2 separate regions of the Homo sapiens genome follow, and region 1 is linked to region 2. Evidence: promoter capture Hi-C in 16 types of primary human blood cells and fetal thymus (Javierre and others, 2016). All regions are on one chromosome and are shown on one strand. The core of a region is centred on a gene start or on the middle of the fragment in contact, and the rest is flanking DNA. Distances in the headings are between cores, read along the strand shown.

What was found. Contacts are between HindIII fragments. The CHiCAGO score rates a contact against its expected background, and 5 or more counts as called.
Region 1: the fragment with the promoter of UGT1A4 here is called in contact with a fragment that was not itself captured in region 2 in 1 of 17 cell types (naive CD4 T cells); the score reaches 5.5 in naive CD4 T cells.

The regions. Positions count from the first base shown.
Region 1 is chr2:233,715,504-233,720,728 of GRCh38, forward strand. UGT1A4 (UDP glucuronosyltransferase family 1 member A4) reads left to right here and starts at 3,233. Exons shown (of 5, transcript NM_007120.3): 1 at 3,233-4,184. The coding sequence starts at 3,318. All of the region lies in intron 1 of UGT1A8 (UDP glucuronosyltransferase family 1 member A8), which reads left to right. The region is part of intron 1 of UGT1A10 (UDP glucuronosyltransferase family 1 member A10); the gene reads left to right. The region is part of intron 1 of UGT1A9 (UDP glucuronosyltransferase family 1 member A9); the gene reads left to right. It also overlaps UGT1A7, UGT1A6, UGT1A5 and UGT1A. The HindIII fragment of the contact is 5,069 bases long and covers 1,157-5,225 here.
Region 2 is chr2:234,502,105-234,507,218 of GRCh38, forward strand. No RefSeq gene overlaps it. Among named protein-coding and RNA genes, the nearest start is that of ARL4C, 7.6 kb to the left of the region's middle. The HindIII fragment of the contact is 1,495 bases long and covers 1,591-3,085 here.

The DNA.
Region 1 (5,225 bases), core at 1,983-4,482, 790 kb before region 2:
GCTCACACCTGTAATTTCAGCCCTTTGGGAGACCGAGGGAGGAGGATTGCTTGAGCCCAGGAGTCTGAGAGCAGCCTGGGCAACATGCTGAGACTCCATCTCTACAAAAAATTAAAAAATTATCCAGGTGTGATGGTGCACACCTGTGGTCCCAGCTACTCGGGAGGCTGAGGCAGGAGGATCACTTGATCCCAGGAGGTGGAGGCTGCAGTGTGCCATGTTCACGCCACCTCACTCCAGCCTGAGTGACAGAGCGAGGACCCATCTCAAAAAAATAAAAATTTATTTGGAATGTGAAAATCTTGTTTTAAAGTTAGAAAACATTTTTTTAAAACTCCAATATGAAAAGCTGGGTGCAGTAGCTTGTGCCTGTGGCCCCAGCTACTTGGGAGGCTCAGGTGGGAGGATCATTGAGCTCAGGAGTTTCAGCTCTTGTGGTTTGTTGACTGACTGACTGATTGACTGATTGATTGATTTAAAACACAACAAAACCCAAAATGACTTTAATCTGATAGTTTCTTTTGATGTCAGCATTCTGATTCTGTCCATTCTTAGTTGTATTCTTTCCACTGAGTGTAAGCTCATTCCTTTAACAGAAATTTAGTTTTTCCATCTTAGTTTTGGAATTCCATGGCCCTTTTCCATTTCCATGGAGATGCAGTGCAGCATCTTCAAGTCTCTAATTCTTACATCTGTCTCTTTCACTTGCAAGAGCCCTTGTGATTACATTGTCCTGCCCGGACATCCAGCATAATCTCCCCATGTCAAAACCCTTAATATAATCACATCTATAAAGTCTCTTCCACCTGTAATGGAATATATTCCCAGGTTTGCGCAACTACAATGTAGATACTTTGTGGGGCTGTGATTCTGCCTACCACAGACACTAAGCTTAAAGTGAAACCCACATCTTATTCAAAACTTGGAGGTTTTCCTTCATTTGGCCATTTAAATTTAATTTTTGTTTCTGTCCTCCGTAGTCTTCTATTCTCCAGGCTTCAGAGCTCTCAGCTTACCATTCAATTATCTCCTTTCTCTCCTTATATTCCTTTTTTCATTTTTTAAAAACAATACTTTCAAAGAGCAAAAATTTTAGAATTTGATGAGGTTTATTCTAGTGAAGTTTTTATCGTTTGTACTTTTTGTACCCTAAGGAAGCTTTGTTTACCCCAAGATATAGTTTCTACATTCTCTTAAAAACACTAAAGAGTTCCAGTTTATATGTTTAGCTCTGTGAGATTGGGAGAGGGGAGCTAGATCACTCAGGTCAGGCTTTCGGGATGCCTTTTTCTGTCTCTGGACGTTGCTGGGGTGACCTCACTGACACCCATGGCTTCAGCTACCACATATGCTGATGGCTCCAAGTCTATCTGTGCAGCCCAGACCCCTCCTCATCTCCAGACCCTGGAAGCTGATGCCTTGGGCAGCTCCTCCTATTTCCCAGGCACCAGGAATGTGAGCTTCTCCCTCCCCACAGTCCTGCTGTCCTCAGGGCCCCTATGTCTCTGAAGGCACCACCATCTTCCAAGATACATGGGCCTCCGCAGGGTCTAGGAGTGCCAGACACGTAACCAGAAATCAGATGACATCACTATCTAAATAAAACACCACTACATGGAAATAGAACACCACTACATGGAAATAGAACATGGGAGCCCCTTGAATGTGGCAAGAGCACCCTCCCAGGCATGTTCCACCCTCACCCCGGGCTCATCAGGAGGGTTCTTAAGATGCAGACAGTTTTAAGGGGGTTGGAGGAATAGTTGAGAAGCTGAGATGTTGCACCCACAGCTGAGAATCCCTTTCTAGCACTCTGTGTCCTCACAAATCCCCAGAAATCGTCCTCCCCTGGGGAGTTCTCAAGCCCTTACAGACCTGCCCTCTCTGTGCCATCCTGCATATGCCTCCCTTGAGCTGGGTGTCCCTCTGATGGACGCATCCATTCACTGCCTGTCCCATGGGTTGTGTCCAAAGGTGGAATCTGTTATCAATGTGGATTTCTAATGGGAGTAACTTCCTCCATAAGGGAAGCCTCAGCCTCACCAGCAATGGCAGACATGGCCAGGCATGTAGACACAGAGGTAGTGAGATGGAAAGTGGGCACAGCCCAGAGAGCCTGCCCACCTCATCCTGGGGCGACCAGGACAAGGAAGCATCAGCAATCTTGCGAGCACATGTAGGAGTGACTTTCTGGAGCAGGACGAGCCTCATGGGCATGAGACCATTGTGAGTGCTCAGGGTCTCCCCCTAGAAAGGCACACATTTAATTCTCCATTTTGAAATTTGAAGTAGTGCCCCCACAAATTATGCAGCCCGTTCTGTTCTGGAGGAACCATTCTTATCAGAACTTGGTGCTGGATTGACTTGGAGAAAAGCCTGGCCATAATCTTCAGGATGAAATAAAGGCCTGGATGAATGGATACTTCAGTCTCTATGCAGACTTGCAGAAGACTGGAGCCTTTGGCATTCAGAAGAGGAATTCAGACTGTGCAAGATCTGAGGCCAGGCTCCAGCTCCCCAGGTCCTTTGGTGAGCAGGAGCTCCCTGAACCCACCGTGGGTCCTTGCTAGGGTTGTCTTGCCCATGTGTGCTTTAGACAGCAGCACCTCTTATTCCATGGTGTAGATGGAGAATCCTCAATAAAGCCTTCCCAAGAATATGATCATCACATCTTGAGCTCAGCCTCCCCGGAGCTTTTTTTTATATTGACAGCCACTTCAGAGAGAGTCCTCTTTGAGCTTTACAAGAAATATCCTGGTGTGAAAAAAGACCAAAACCAGATAGCCAGCCTGAACACTCTCTGTTTAGAGAAAGCTGGCTTAGCAATGTTGTATGTCTTTTGGATGTGCTGTGTTATTCACATATGAGAAGAAAGAGTTTCAAGGGTTAGCAAATAGCGTCACATTCAGCAGAGAACATGTGGTTGGGGACTAGGGCAATGGTGACTCCTCAGACCTCAGCTGCAGCCTGATAAATATGGTTAACAGAGTAGAAGGCAGTGACATGAAATGGGTGTCCACAGCCTTGTGTTGGGAATTGAATGAGAAAGAAGAGCTTGAACTTGGATGTTCCCCAGAGGCAGCACAGGGTCAGATGAGCTTTTCAAGATAGGCGTGATTGGTCTTTCCCAGGGTTGGGCCCATAACGAAAGGCAGTTATAGATTAATGGGTAATAAGTAACTGGAGGAGGGCACTTTGTCTTCCAATTACATGCTGATTTGCTAGGTGGCTCAATGACAAGGTAATTAAGGCGAAGGAAACAAATGTAGCAGGCACAGCGTGGGGTGGACAGTCAGCTGTCGGTGGCTTCTGCTGAGATGGCCAGAGGACTCCAGGTTCCCCTGCCGCGGCTGGCCACAGGACTGCTGCTCCTCCTCAGTGTCCAGCCCTGGGCTGAGAGTGGAAAGGTGTTGGTGGTGCCCACTGATGGCAGCCCCTGGCTCAGCATGCGGGAGGCCTTGCGGGAGCTCCATGCCAGAGGCCACCAGGCGGTGGTCCTCACCCCAGAGGTGAATATGCACATCAAAGAAGAGAAATTTTTCACCCTGACAGCCTATGCTGTTCCATGGACCCAGAAGGAATTTGATCGCGTTACGCTGGGCTACACTCAAGGGTTCTTTGAAACAGAACATCTTCTGAAGAGATATTCTAGAAGTATGGCAATTATGAACAATGTATCTTTGGCCCTTCATAGGTGTTGTGTGGAGCTACTGCATAATGAGGCCCTGATCAGGCACCTGAATGCTACTTCCTTTGATGTGGTTTTAACAGACCCCGTTAACCTCTGTGGGGCGGTGCTGGCTAAGTACCTGTCGATTCCTGCTGTGTTTTTTTGGAGGTACATTCCATGTGACTTAGACTTTAAGGGCACACAGTGTCCAAATCCTTCCTCCTATATTCCTAAGTTACTAACGACCAATTCAGACCACATGACATTCCTGCAAAGGGTCAAGAACATGCTCTACCCTCTGGCCCTGTCCTACATTTGCCATACTTTTTCTGCCCCTTATGCAAGTCTTGCCTCTGAGCTTTTTCAGAGAGAGGTGTCAGTGGTGGATCTTGTCAGCTATGCATCCGTGTGGCTGTTCCGAGGGGACTTTGTGATGGACTACCCCAGGCCGATCATGCCCAACATGGTCTTCATTGGGGGCATCAACTGTGCCAACGGGAAGCCACTATCTCAGGTCTGTATTGGTGCCTTCATCCAATCAATGTTCCAGGCAAAACACTTTTTAAAAAATGTATTTACTTACAAGTGCTTCCATATCTACTTATCTTTCCAAAGATTTTATTTTGGCTTCTTTATAACAGATAAACTGTTGAGGGGCCTAGTGTATTTCAAGTTTTCAGTGGTCACTGAGAGGAAGAAGAGGCACGGATGAGGGTCTGTCAGAGGATGGACAAGGACTGCTGTGACTCACGGACAGTGTTTGTAAAGGCACCATCTTCATGGTTGTGCATGTCCTTCAGCTCGGCAGGATCAGGGACACTACATTCAGAACTGATCCATCCTGGGGTTTTTGCTTGCCTGATTTTCAGCTGAACGGTGATGCAACAGTAAATTAGAATTGTGGACATGATAATTTTTAGTGGTCCCATCTTGCGAAAGATACAGAGGTGACCACAGGAGACCTAGGCACTCACAGGAAGTAGAAGTGTCAAAGAGGTTGACTCAGTTGAGTGGAAGTGGGGCTGTGAAGGTGGGATGGATGCATGTGATCAGAGAATGAAACATGGAGTTCAGTTTCCAGAGAGGGATCTGTCCTGAGAAAAGTTTTTCTGACCAGGAGTTGGGGGTCTGGTGTATGATGTGGGGACATCGTAGAGTTTGGAAGGTATGGTGATGGTTGCATGTCAAAAGGGTCTTCTACTTGGAATGCTGAAATTATCAAGAGTGGGTGGAAGGGACTAGGGAGGAGATAAGACCGTGAATCTATAAGCCCAGTGAAGCTGGGACCAGTGATGAATGGACATGTGTCCAAGAAGGGAAGTGTTTCTCAGGTGAAGCTGATCATATCACCAAACTCACCCTATCCCACTCCAAGTTTCTATAGTGGGATCTATTCTTTTTCCAAAAATTTCAGAGGTGACTTTCATTAATACAGAATATTTGGGTTTCATTGAAATAGTACTCTGGGATGTGAAAAACCAAATTCACACACCAATGAATTTGGTTTCTAAATCCATTAAGGGAGCCATCCTTTTTTTTTTTTTTTTCTTGAGAC
Region 2 (5,114 bases), core at 1,088-3,587:
TAATATTTACATGGCATGTATTAAATGAACCTTTGTCAAGGATGTTAAGACTCAAAGCTTTGGAAGTCAGCACTCAGGCATACCAAAGTGACAGAAAAGTTCTTAGTGCCAGCTTCCAGTTCAGGGGGAAGAAAAGGCTTAGTATGCAAAAGGTATTTCTGAATCCTTTAATAATTCAATCACAGTAATTAAATTTCTACTCTAATAGCTACAGTGAAGGAAAAAAAAAACAAGTTAACAATAAATATCAGGTGATTAGAGAGCTGCACCATGAACCAAGAAGTATTTGATGGAAACTTGGATTACTTTCATTCCTCTTCTCCCACCTCTGCAGGTGAACTGAAATGCTATTATTTTCATTTAATTAAGCTTACTTGGCTGGACCCCAGAGAGATGAAAACAATCACGCTTTTGTGCCCCTGTCAAACCCTATTGGCTTTCTACAGTGCAGCAGGGAGGATGGGGTGTGTTGCCAGTGCCACCCTCTCTAATGTGTGGTCACTCAGGATGACTCTTCCCTTTAATACAACAGTTGGCTTTTGTAGAACCATCCTCTGTGTGGATACAGCACAGCATCTGAACAGAGCTCCTTGGCCCGTTGCTGCTTCTGTTGGAGTGATAGCCACTTGAGATGATCATTTCTTCCTTATGAGTCACACAGTGCTCATGTAACCTGATGCTTTGCTCCATCAATCACAGAAAATCCCTTTTACTCTCTTGCTTCTGCCTCTCCCAGTCTCCTGCAGCTGCTCTCCTAAGGTCATTGATGACCTATGGAAAAATCCAAAGGGCTGATCTGTGCGGATGGCTGTTTGGGATGGAGATGCTCATGGGTTACAGGCACACCATCCACCAGGACCTCCAAACGTGCGTCTTACAAAGCTGTGCTCTCTCTGTCTCCCTGATCACTAATACTACTTTTTGTGTGAGTCTTCTCATTATTTAGTCATCAGCCACAGACTGTGTTGGTCGTCAGTGTTGGGTCTGTGATGTTTTCTTTCTCTCAGCATCTAATTCCATCTAGCTCTCATGATTTCTCAATCTCTGTCACTGTCAAAAGCCAGAAGAGAACAACATGGACTATTGGACTCAGAGCATGCTCTCTTTCTCTGTCACTCTGTAGATAGGTAGATGATAGATGATAAATAGATAGATGACAGATAGATAGATAGATGATTGATAGACGACAGATTGATAGATAAATGATAGATGATATAGATAGATGATAGATCAATAAACAGACAGAAAGAGATTATCCAGCAAACACATCAACCAGCACAAGATGATAGACAAACTCATTGTCTTTCCCCTCCCTCTGCTTACCCTCTGCATCCAGTCAACCAATGTCCAGATGATTTTACTTTGGAAATGGCTCTTGGAATTAAAATTGTGAGCACTTTTAAACCACATTTATTGTTTTTTCTTCATGACAGTTGCCTTTACGTCCTCAATAAATGCAGTATTTACTTCCATTTTTGCATGTGGAAAAGAGCAAACTTCATCAAGTTCACTAGCAAGGGCCTCTATCCAGTCTGCTTGGGTACCAGGGAGGAGGGTTGGCCCAAGCTTACTTACAATCTGATTGGCCCAAGCTTAATACTTCATTGGTACCATTTTGATGAGTGCTCAATGAAGGGATGTGCTTCTAAGGGCAGGCTTAGTGTCCCCTTCTCTGCCTGTCAGGGGCGGGTAAGCTCTGTGGGATTGGCCACCTTATGTTCAGGAGTAGAGAAGGCACAGCTGGTTTATATCCTCAGCCTAAGCTGCTTGCTTCAATCTAGCATTTACTGCAGAGTTCTAGAAACAGATGGAGGAGGATGTCCATCAGTGTTTGCCCAGCTTGATAAAGTAATACCACCTGGTCCATATAGGGAAGTGATAAACCCAACACTCAACCTCTCACATAACCCAGAAGGAAATTCCACTAAACTCTTTGGCATCCAATATGGAACATGAAGACGTGACCTCTAGGCTACAACGAGAAAACCCTAAGGAGAGAAGAGACCCAAATAAAAAGGTGCCAAGATAGGATGAAAGGACACTTCAGACAACAAAAAATAAAAGCGGAGAGTTTATTTCCTCCTCCTTCTCATCATCCCACTTTTACTTATTTTTCATATTTTTATTCTGGTCAAAAGTATCACAATTTTTGTGGAGTATCTAGCCCTTTATTTGCATACTGCAGAGCAAATTTTTCTCTCCAGAGAAACTGACATTTAAGAGAACTAAGAAATGACTGAGTTGATAACTTTTTAGTATTTTTTAATTAGGTAAAACATTCACATGGTATAACATTCATAAGGAACACCACCCTCCCTCACCCCCTCACCCTTGCCCCCACCATAACTCCTCTCCTTAAAGGTGACTGCATTCATTAATGTTTTGTGTTTCCTCCAGTAATTAATTATTCTTTTTCACAGAGCCATACCTTAGAATGCACTTAGGCATCTCCAGAATCCTAAGCAAAGGAGGCAAAGGGAGGGCCATATTGTTAGTTAATGTGGTCATGGGGAGTCTAGCAGAGCCAAAATATATCCATGCCACACCAAGGTGAAGGACTCCAGAGAGAAACTACAAGCCTTATTGAGAAAGTAAGAAGCTACTAGACCTTTGCTGCTGTAGTTATGAATATCTTCATCCTGCAGCCCAGCCTTGCCCAGACCCTGAGCCCAGACAGACCTGCTCCCAAGAGCAGCTGGGCTCTGCAATTACCCTGCAGATAGAAGCTCCAGGTACATCCCTAGGGAGCCAGCCCCTGGGAACTTCAGCCGTGCACTGAGCACTCACCATCCAGAAGACAGGTCTTCTGCTCCATCCTAGGCAGGCACCCTGACATCTGCCTAGCCATCTGGAACCAGCCTTCCCATTGCCTGTGACTGTAGCTATAGCTGCTGGCCATGCAGCCCTAGTTCGTCCCATTTTGTTGGACTGGCTTAGACGGGAGAAAAAAGGCAAACTAAAACACGATAACTCCAGAAAGCAAAGCCAGCAGTTTTCCAGCCTATAATGGCTTAGACCGAAAAGAAAAAATAAAGAAAAGCAAAAGCAAAGAAATGAGAATAAATTTGATTTTTGTCACAGAAGAAGCTTACCTGTCTTGAATTCTGGCTTATTGGTCTAGTATTTCTTAAATTCCAGCCTACTGTTCATGGACCATGTCTTTGTTATGATTTTATCTAGCGCTAGGTGGGGAAAATAGTTAAAATAAAAACAATCCCAGTTTTTTCCTTGCCAAAAAAAGGTCAAATATAAAAATTGGGTCTAGATTCTGGGCAGAATGATGATGCAATGTATTAGTCAGGGTTCTCTACAGGGAGATATATATATATATATATATATATATATACACATATATATATATACACATATATATATATACACATATATATATACACATATATATATACACATATATATATATACACATATATATATACACACACACATACACATATATAGAGATATCGAGATATAGACATCTATGTGTGTGTATATATATAGACATATATATATAGAGAGAGAGAGAGAGGGAGAGGAGTTTACTAAGTATTAACTCACATGATCACAAGATCCCACAATAGGCCGCCTGCAAGCTGAGGAGCAAGGAGAGCCAGTCCAAGTCCCAAAACTGAAAAACTTGGAGTCTGATGTTCAAGGGCAGGATACATCCAGCATGGGAGAAAGATGTAGGCTGGGACGGTGGGAGGGTAGGCCAGCCCAGTCTTTTCACATTTTTCTGCCTGCTTTATATTCTAGCCTCGATGGCAGCTGATTAGATGGTGCTCACCCAGATTAAGGGTAGGTCTGCCTTTCCCAGCCCACCGACTCAAATGTTAATCTCCTTTGGCAACACTCTCACAGAAACACCCAGGATTAATACTTTGCATCCTTCAATCCAATCAAGCTGATACTCAGTATTAACCATCACATTAAAAAAAACAGGCTTAAATTCACATGTCACTGTAGGGACACAGAGTTGGTGCCAGCAGGAAGCTTCCCTAGAAAGTTGTTCATACAAGCCAGGAACTGACATGCCCATCGCTAGCTATATTATGAAGTAATCTGAGATACTTCCACGCAATCAAAAACTTCACAACTATTAAAAAGAATGAGATAAATTTTGTGTGTTGATATGGTTAAGAAGACCCAGATATTGTTAAGCAAAAAAAGCATGATACACAAATGCTTCCATCTCTATTAAAAAAAAATGCGTGTGTGTAAGATATATATATGAAATCCATGATAATTTCCCAAAAAGGTACACAAACAACTACTGGTATTGATTATCTGGACGATGGAACTGAGGAGGAATAGAAAGCAGCCTCATGTCTTACTGTAAATCTTTTTGTACTGTTTAATTTGTGTTCTCCATGCATGAAAGTATTATTTTCATAATAACAATGAAAAAAATGTAGTTAATGAATGCATGCACAAAAAGAAAAAATTCCTGCAACCATATGCAGATTTAAGAAGCTCTAAACTTTGTACTGCTTTCTAGAAAGAATTAAAATAAGTACAAGTGTCCAGAGAGCGAATCAACACACCAGCGAATGTCAGATATCCATAAATAAGTGATTTCATGTTCAGCAGCATGAGATCCATAAAGGTAGCCTTCAAGCATGACTGAGATGTGCGGCTGAGCATCCAGGGGCAAATTGATGGAGAGCATCGTTTTTCTCTAGAGCTGCTATCCTCCTTCCTCAAGGTCAGGCTGACAAGGTGAAATGAAACATTAACATTTAGAAGTGATTTCCCATGGAGGTGGAAGTGCAGAAGTTTAGCTCTTCTGAAACCTTTAACCTTCCTGGAAGGTGTTAATACTGCCAGTATCCCAAGTTCTCAGCAGGTTTTCAAATGATTTTTTCCAGGGCGGACCCTGAGATATAAAACAATGGACTGCAACAGGCCCAGGATACTGCAGATATTTTGTGCTGTTACTTAAGAATTAGAATTCTTTCTTTCTGCTGTTTGTGCATGCAAATTATCTTTCCTAATGACATTTAATCTACCTATCATTAACACCTTATCACATGATAGGATTGGAAAACTAGTTTCCCAGCAGAGTTTCCACAGGTAGTGGAGAACTGGCTTTGCATAAGGGCTTTTCATACATT